2 separate regions of the Homo sapiens genome follow, and region 1 is linked to region 2. The links are contacts of gene promoters, found by promoter capture Hi-C in blood cells and fetal thymus (Javierre and others, 2016). All regions are on one chromosome and are shown on one strand. Each heading gives the region's core, a stretch centred on a gene start or on the middle of the fragment in contact. The rest is flanking DNA. Distances are from core to core; before and after follow the strand shown. Region 1 has its middle 35 kb from the start of METTL9. Region 2 holds the start of ANKS4B (ankyrin repeat and sterile alpha motif domain containing 4B).

Evidence for each region. Contacts are between HindIII fragments. The CHiCAGO score rates a contact against its expected background, and 5 or more counts as called.
Region 1: a contact is called between a fragment that was not itself captured here and the fragment with the promoter of ANKS4B in region 2, in 4 of 17 cell types (naive B cells, total B cells, total CD4 T cells and 1 more). The highest score is 9.5, in naive B cells.

The regions. Positions count from the first base shown.
Region 1 is chr16:21,562,698-21,567,343 of GRCh38, forward strand. No RefSeq gene overlaps it. Among named protein-coding and RNA genes, the nearest start is that of METTL9, 35 kb to the right of the region's middle. The HindIII fragment of the contact is 1,772 bases long and covers 2,384-4,155 here.
Region 2 is chr16:21,231,380-21,235,823 of GRCh38, forward strand. ANKS4B (ankyrin repeat and sterile alpha motif domain containing 4B) reads left to right here and starts at 2,320. Exons shown (of 2, transcript NM_145865.3): 1 at 2,320-2,522. The coding sequence starts at 2,359. It overlaps LOC105371123 (a long non-coding RNA gene), which reads right to left and starts at 2,223. Exons shown (of 2, transcript XR_001752344.2): 1 at 2,113-2,223. The HindIII fragment of the contact is 3,732 bases long and covers 1,028-4,444 here.

The sequences.
Region 1 (4,646 bases), core at 2,020-4,519, 330 kb after region 2:
ACTAAAAGTACAAAAATTATCTGGGCGTGGTGGGGTGTGCCTGTAGTCCCAGCTACTCAGCAGGCTGAGGCAGGAGAATATCTTGAACCCGGGAGGTGGAGGTTGCAGTGAGCTGAGATCGCACCACTGCACTCCAGCCTGAGGGACAGAGCGAGACTCTGTCTCAAAAAAAAAAAAAAGAAGAGACATGAGAGAGCTCCCTTTCTCTCTCTTTCTCCCCCCATTCCCCTTCCTTCTCCCTCTCCCTCCTTCTCCCTCCCTCTCCCTTATCCTCTTCCCTCCTTTTCTCTCTCCCATACAAGAAGCTAGTTTCCTGTCTACAAGCCAGGTAGACAGTCTTCACTAGAATCCAACCATGCTGGCACCCTGATCTCAGACTTCCCAGCCTTCATAACTGTGAGAAATAAATGTCTGTTGTTTAAGCCACCTAGGCCGGGTCTTGGGGCTCACAATATAATCCTGGCGGTTTGGAAGGCCAAGGTGGGAGGAGGCTGAAGCCCAGAGTTCAAGACCCGCCTGGGCAACGGTGAGACCTTGTTTCTACAAAAAAAAGTTTAAAAAAATTAGCTGGGCTTGGTGGTGTGTTCTTGTAGTCCTAGCTGTTTGGGAGGCTGAGATGGAAGGCTCACTTGAGTCTGGGAGATTGAGGCTACAGTGAGCTATGATTGGTCTACTGCACTCTAGCCTGGGTGACAGAGCAAGGCCCTCTTAATAAATAAATATATAAATAGCTACCCAACCTGTACTATGATATTTTGTTATGGCAGCCCAAGCTAAGACATAGAGCCAGGCAAATAGTAAGCCTTCGATGCATCTCACACCATTATTCTTAAAAGGGACATGTCAGGCTGAGCCCAGAAAGGAGAAATTCCCTCTCTATTCTTGAAGTAGCAACAGTTTATAGGGACTCAAGTTTTCTTTTCACGAATTCGAAAGAAACTATACGGACACATTCACCTTACTGAGGTTTCTCTGGCCTTGTCCATTCTGAGCTCCTGTTTTTTCTGCAGAGGTGCTCATTGATACTGACTTGGTGATCTTGAAAGGATTCTCTGTATTTCTCTTTTTTTAAATAGAGATAGGGTCAGTCTTGCCATGTTTACCAGGCTGGTCTGAAACTCTTGGCCTCAAGTGATCCACCTGCCTCAGCCTCCCAAAGTGTTGGGATTACAGGTATGGACCACTGCGCTGGGCCAGGGTTGTCTGTTTTTATATGAATGACCATAAAGTTATTTCACTGATGCCATCAGGAAGCAACCTTATTAATTTTATGTATTTTTGAGCTGATGTTGATAGCAGAAGAGTGGAAAGGAGTCAGACTTTGCTTTAGTCTCGTGATGTAGAAGATCCTAAAGATAGGATTCAAGGTGAGAGTATGATCATTTATATGGCCCTCTTCACCTCACAGAGCTGAATTTACCAATAATTTGGCAGGTATAAGCTAGGAAAATGAAGTAAAAGGGTCCAGACAGTAATATTTTAGAATTCTGTTACCTGCGGGTGGATACTTTCTTCTTTTGAGAATAGAAGATTAGGCTGGGTGCAGTGGCTCATGCCTGTAATCCCAGCACCTTAGAAGGCTGAGGCAGGCAGATCACTTGAGTCTAGGAGTTTGAGACCAGCCTGGGCATCATAGCAAGACCCCGTCTCTACTAAAAATACAAAAAAAAAAAAGTAGCTGGCTGTGGTGGTGTGTGCCTGTAATACCAACTACTCAGGAGGCTGAGGTAAGAGAATCACTTGAACCCAGGAGGTGGAGGTTGCAGTGAGCCAAGATTGTGCCACTGCACTCCAGCCTGAGTGACAGAGCAAGACTCTGTCAGAAAAAAGAAAGAAAAGAGAGAGAGAGAAAGGAAGAGGGGAAGGGAAGGAAGGGAAGGAAGGAAGAGAGAGAGGAAGGAAGGAAGAGAGAGAGAGGAAGGAAGGAAGGAAAAGGAAGGAAGGAAGGGAACAGAAGATTAGTTGAGCATAGTGGCTCAGTGCCTGTAATCCCAGCACTTTGGGAGGCCGAGGTAGGCAGATCATTTGAGCCTAGGAGTTCAAGACCAGCCTGGGAAACATGGCAAAATCCCATCTCTACAAAAAATAGAAAAATTAGCTGGGCATTGTGGCATGCATCTGTAGTCCCAGCTACTTGTGGGGCTGATGCAGGAGGGTCACTTGAGCCCAGGAGGCAGAGGTTGCAGTGAAGTATGATTATGCCACTGCACTCCAGCCTAGGTGGCAGAGTGAGACTCTGTCTCAAAAAAAAAAAAAAAAAAAAGAAGATTGTGAGCAAAAATTGAATGCAATTTTTTTCATAAGCAGAGGTGTAATGGTTATTATTACAAAAGATGATATTAAATTTATTTATGTATTATCTCTTTGCCTCCACCAGAATGTAAGCTTTGTTGAAGGCAAGGATCATTGTTGATTTATTTACTCTGTATCCCAGGCATCTAAAACAGTAAGTGTGCAATAAATATTTGTTGAATGAATCAAAGCATAAGCAAGGCTTCAGATTCATTTTTCTATCAGAGATTCATTTAAAAATGTTAAGGAAATGAGAGGTGAAGACATCCTAAAGGCATAATACTCAAAGTAGTCAGTAGGTTCATTGATAACCCAGAGGAAAATATATAATATTATAGAGGAAAAGAAATTCTCTGAAATCATGGCATCTCTCCTAGCTTGGGATAACATTTTAGCAGAAAGACCGAAGAACTCTTCCAAGAAACATCAAGCAATTAAATGAAGTAGTAGAAAAATCACCAGTACTTTAAAGTAGATGAAGCCATTAAAATAGTTGCAGCTTCAGTAATCACCATGTAAGCCTGTAAGTGGTGGGTCTTAGACCACAACATGGTAGTTATCAAATTGCTTTATTCATCGAAATGTTCATTCTCCTGGCTGCCCTTGAACTTCCAGCCTAAGGCTTTCTCTCTGCAGGGTTGTCAGCATGCTCATGCAAGGCTTTGCCTCTGCAGATTATCAGAGGTGTACTCCATGCCCCTCTCACCATGAAAAAAGGGAGAAAAAGACAATTTCGTCTCAGAGATAGAAAATCTCCCAGAGAGAACCCCTGGCAGCTGGAATCCATTTTTTTCCCCCTGAAGCTGGAATCTGTTATAACTACAGAACACTGAAGGATAATGAGGTTCTGCTGCTAAGCAAATGCTGGGACAAAAAGCACAGAGGTGCTGCAGCCAGGCAGAGACTGGGCTTTTCATGAAACCCTGTGTCTCTGAGCACATATTGCAATAATTCTCTGACTAGCTGCTCAAGGCCTTGGCTTCGTGGCTTTTTACTCCGTTTAAAGGTCTTGATCAGGCCACTTCCGTTTTTAATGTTTGAGAAATGTCTGATTTATGCTGCTTCAAAGTGGAACTTGGGTTTCTATTACCTTTTTGGCACCTTGCACCCATTGTTGGCCTAATTCTGCTGTCTCGTCTATCTTGTGGTTCCTATCAGTAAACAAAGTCCAGGAGAGGCGTCATGCTTGTGAACACCTCCAACATCAAGTTCAAAAGTACAATCATGACCTTGTCCTGTCGTTCTCAGAATCTGGGCTCAGCTATTTCAAACCTCCCATGTCTTCACTGGTAGTGGTCAATTAGAAATCACTGAATCCTTTCCCTAGAGTGGTCAGAGACAGCCAGTTTATGGTAATTTGGGCACAAGTGCCAATTGGAAAGGTGCATTATTCAAACCACTTTGGCTACAAGTGACAGAAATTCAATGCAGGTTAGCTTAAATAAAAAAGGAATTCGGGCTGGGAACAGTGGCTCATGCCTATAATCCCAGCATTTTGGGAGGCCGAGGCGGGTGGATCACCTAAGGTCAGAAGTTCTAAACCAGCCCGGGCAACACGGTGAAACCCTGCCTGTACTATAAATACAAAAAATTAGCCAGGCATGGTAGTGCACGCCTGTAGTCCCAGCTACTCTGGAGGCTGAGGCAGAAGAATCACTTGAACCCGGGAGGTGGAAGTTGCAGTGAGCCAAGATCACGCCACTGTACTCCAGCCTGGGCGACAGTGAGACTCTGTCTCAAAAAAAAAGAAAAAAAGAAAAAAAAGGGAATTTATTGGCTTCTGTAGCTGAAAAGTCAGGCAGATTTGGATCTCAAATTATGTCATTAACTAGTTTCTCTGACTTACCCTCTGCGTTGTGTATAAGCTTTTCATCGCATGGCAGCAAGATACCTCCATGTTCACATAGGGCTAACAGCCCAAGATGGTGAGGAAACATGCACTTTTGTTCCAGTAGCACAGAAAAAGTCCCCAGGTGGACGCTAATGGGCACTGTATGAGTCAAGTGCTCATGGCTGAGGCAGTAGTTGTACCTTGACACATGAAGTCCTCTGACCAGATCTGGGCATGTACCTGACCTTGGGGATGGAAGTGAGGCAGTCCAGCTCCACCAACTCGTAAGGACTGAGACAGTTTACTAGGGAAGAGGGGAAAGCGTGTTTCTTACAGGAAGAAATGCGGGCAGACAAAACACCATATACCCCTTAAATTAGGTTTTCCACAGATAATTGAGGTGGAGCAGAAGGGTAACCACATTTTGACAGCATCATCAGTATGTGGTGAGTGGCCCAGCATTTGACCCTGGCCTCTGTGGTCATCTCAGAGCCCAGAAAGTAGCAGCAGAAGAGCAGAGCAT
Region 2 (4,444 bases), core at 1,070-3,569:
TTTTTTTTTTTTTTTGAGATGGAGTCTCACTCTGTCACCAGGCTGGAGTGCAATGGTGCGATCTCAGCTCACTGCAACCTCCGCCTCCCGGGTTTAGGCGACTCTCCTGCCTCAGCCTCCCGAGTAGCTGGGACTACAGGCACATGCCACCATGCCCAGCTAATTTTTGTATTTTTAGTAGAGACGTGGTTTCACCATATTGGCCAGGATGGTCTCAATCTCTTGACCTCGTGATCTGCACCCCCTCAGCCTCTCAAAGTGCTAGGATTACAGGTGTGAGCCACTGTGCCCGGCCCAAATATTTTATAGCTATACCAATCTTTAGTCTGATATAGAACATTATGATGATGTCTGAAATCTTCCCTTATGATTGTGGTTTTGTTTTTTTTTTTCTGTTTAATTTTTGCTTTCCCTTTTTTGCAGCTGTGTTATTTAATTTATACAAGTTTAAAACGATCATAGTTTCTTGATTAATTGTTCCTTTCATTATCATGTATTATCTCTCTTTATGCCTAGTAAATTTTTTTGGCTTAAGCTATATTTTTCCTTGCTACCAATACGGGTGCTCTTCAACTTACAATGCAAAACCACCATAAGTTGATATAATAACTCAGTTGTGAGCTGAGAAGCATACTAAATACCTGTCATTTTTGTGCCATCATAAAGTTGAAAAATTAGGTCAAACTCTCATAAGTTGCAGACCATCTATGTGGGTACACCAATGTTTTGTTAGTATTTGCTTGCTATAACTTTTCCATTTTTTGCTTTCAATCTTTCTGCAATTTTATATTTTAGATATGTCTATTATAAACAAGACATGGCTGAGTCTTCCACATCATAAATTTAGTCCATTTTCTTTTGTTTTTATTACAGATCTGGAAATTTTTTGGTCTTATATTGTACTCCTTATAGTCATTTTTCTATACTTTTTCTCCTTCCCTTGAGTTATTGATAATATGTTTAAGTTATTGATTTGAGATCTTTTTTCTTTCTCATATATGCATAAAAAACTACAAATTTTGCCCTAAGCTTTTCTTTAACTGCATCCTATAAATCTTGATATGTGGTATTTTCATTTTCATTCTGTTCCAAATATGTCTGATATAGGACTTGTATCCAGAGTATATAAATAATTCTTATAATTTATTAATAAGACAACCACTTAAAAATTGGGCAAAAAGATTTGAATAGAAGATGTAAGAATGGCTAATGGGCACATGAAAAGATGCTCAATATCTTAGTCATTAGGAAATTGAAAATTAAAGCCATAATAAGACCACTTCATATCCACTAGGATGACCATAAACAAAAAGATAGGCAATAATAAGGCTGGCAAGGTTGTGGAGAAATTGAAACCCTCATACGTTATTGGTGGAAATGTGAAGTAGTACAGCCACTTTGGAAAACAGTCTGGCAACTTCTGAAATTTAAATGTAAATTGCCATGCAACCCAGCAGTTTCACTCCTTGATATATACGCAAGACACATGAAAATATGTGTCCACACAGAGACTTGTACATCAGTGCTCATAGCAGCATTATTCATCATTACTGAAAAATGGAAACAACCCAAATATTCATCATATTCATGAAACATTGAATGGATGAAGAACATGTGGTATGTTAGCACAGTGGAATATTATTCAGCAGTGAAAAGAAAGAAACCATTACATGCTACACATGACAAACCTCAAAAAAGTATGTGAATTGAAACAAGCTATACACTAAAGACTATATATTGTAGGATTCCATTTGTCTGAAATGCCCGTAAAAAACAAATCTATAGAGACAGAAAGCAGACTGTGGTTTCCTGAGGTTGGGAGTGGAAATGGGATTGACAGCAAATGGCATGAGGGATCTTTAAGGGCTGATGGAAACTGGATTATGATAATGGGCATGCAACTCTATAAATGTCCTAAAAATCATTGAATTGTATGCATGAAATGGGTAAATTTAATGATGTTATACCTCAATAAAGCTGTTCTTTTTGGAAAAAACAGCTAGTGAACTAGAGTAGCTCTGCATTTTATTAAGAAATTATTTCTTACATCCTGTGCCTAGATGGCCAATATTACACTCAAGAAACTAATGGACATAGAAAAATTGAATGTACCTCCAAACACTCAAGATGAATACAGCAGTCTTCAATAGTCAACGTCATGGCCATTCCAGAGAGAAAAGGTCCAAGTTCAGTGCCTCGAACCTTGTTGCCTTCCGTGAAAGGAAGCAGTTGAAATGAGCTTTGCCCCTGGTGACACTCTTCCTTGTCACTAATTAACCAGCTCTATAGGAAGGTTGCTCCGCCAACACCTTGCTCTGCCTGGAGAGACATCTGGCCAAGTTCTGGTGAGCAGGAAAAATGTCTACTCGTTACCACCAAGCTGCTAGTGATAGTTACCTGGAACTTCTAAAAGAGGCTACCAAGCGAGATCTAAATCTTTCGGATGAAGACGGCATGACTCCTACTCTCTTGGCAGCCTACCATGGGAACTTGGAAGCCCTAGAGATAATCTGCAGTAGAGGGTAAGTTCAACCCGATGGTTTCTGTTGGAAACAGTGTTCATGGTAGGTTTTTGCAGACAGCAGCAAGAGGCAGGGACGTCAATACAAATACTTTATCCTCTTTCTAGATTGTCTAAATGATTGGATTTTTAGAGAAAGAGAGAAAACTATGCCTAGAGATGCTCTCTTTTCTCACTGAGGACTGGCACTATAGGAGTGGCTCATCCCTTAGCCACAATCAGAGGAGAGACCCTGAACTACGGCATTATCTGCATGGGGAAGAGGGAAGATATTTTAATTCTATGCCTTTAAAAATGCTTTTCATGAAATTTAAATAGTTTTCTCTTTTCAAAGAGGCCATTGTTTTACTTGGTTTTAAGTTGCCAACCTTGGTTGGAACAAATGACATGGTTTTAGTTTTTTTTTTATCTATGCCATCAAAATCTCACAGTCTTTTATTAACTTTCAATCCCAGTGCAAGCTCATGATTTTTTTATTTTTTATTTTTGACACAGGGTCTTGCTCTTTTGAATGGAGTTGCTGGCTCTACAAGGACTCTTTAGCCTATCTTAACTCTATCACTTCTTTGGCTAGTGGATAGATACACACACACACACACACACACACACACACACACACACCCCATCTCTTTGCCCAGATTTTAATGGAGGAGTAAGCTAGTTCCTCTGCTTGTTCTGCCTGTTATCAGAGGGCTAGGTTGTGTTGGCAACCGTAACCCAAGAGGGGTAAAGAAAGAGAAAAGGACAAGGTAAATAAAGGAGCCAAGTGAATCCAATTGAATACCCATTTATTCAGTATTTGTTATGTGCCAGCCACTTATCTCTTAAGATAAGAGATATTTTGCTAGCCACTGGGCACACTGTGATCAACAAGACAGCCACAGTCCCTGTCATAGTGAGCAGATTTGAGAGGGGAAGACAAGACATCTATGATATTTGTGTGTGTGTGTGTGTGCATGTTTGCTCTGAGACAGGGTCTCACTCTGTCACTCAGGCTGGAGTGCAGTGTCAAGATCATAGCTGACTGCAGCCTTGAGCCCCAGGCTCAAGTGGTCCTCCCATCTGAGCCTCCCGAGTAGCTGGGACAAGAGGTGTGCACCACCATGCCCAGCAATTTTTGTACTTTTTGTAGTGATGGGGTTTTGCCATGTTGCCCAGGATGGTCTTCAACTTATGAGCTCAAGCGATCTGACAGCCTCGGTCTCCCAAAGTGCTGGGATTACAGCTGTGAGCCACTGTGCCTGGCTCATCTATGATATTTGTTACAAAAAGGGAAATAGAGGGCACTAAATAGGCATCTACCTCAATCTCAGGGGTGAGGGAAGGCTTCCCTAAGGGGAAAGCATTTAAGCTGGGATTAGGAAAATGAGAACAAGTTGGCTAGACGAAAGAGTGTTTTCCCTAAGATGGAAAACTGCTCTAGTTCTGAGAACTAGAGAAGCTGAGTATGGCTGGATGTGGTTCAAGTAGGAGTGGGGTCAGGACAAGTATAAGAGATAAGACCAGATCACAAAGAGCCTTGTCAACTCTGGTAAGGACTTTATCCTAAGGGCCCAGGAAGCCATGTCTTGGGTAGGGAAGCTGCCAGAGTAGATTTATGTTTACAAAACTCACTCAGGTAGATGGATAACAGTCGGAGAGAATGTTTGGGGACTGTTTTAGTGGTCGAGATGAGTTGGACTAGGGTAGTGACATTGGGAATGGGAAGATATGGTTGGATTTGAGTGGCAGTTTGGATGTAGAATCAATAATGATTGACTGGATGTGGGCAGATAAAGGAAAAGGAGGGTTAAGGTCCCAGGTTTTGGATGTTGACACCCTTTATTAAAATAGGGGACATTTAGGAAGTGTCAGAAGAACCCAGGATTGGGAGAGTTCCTGAGTTGAAGATTGAATGAGAAAGTGAGTGAAGCAGATCTTCCC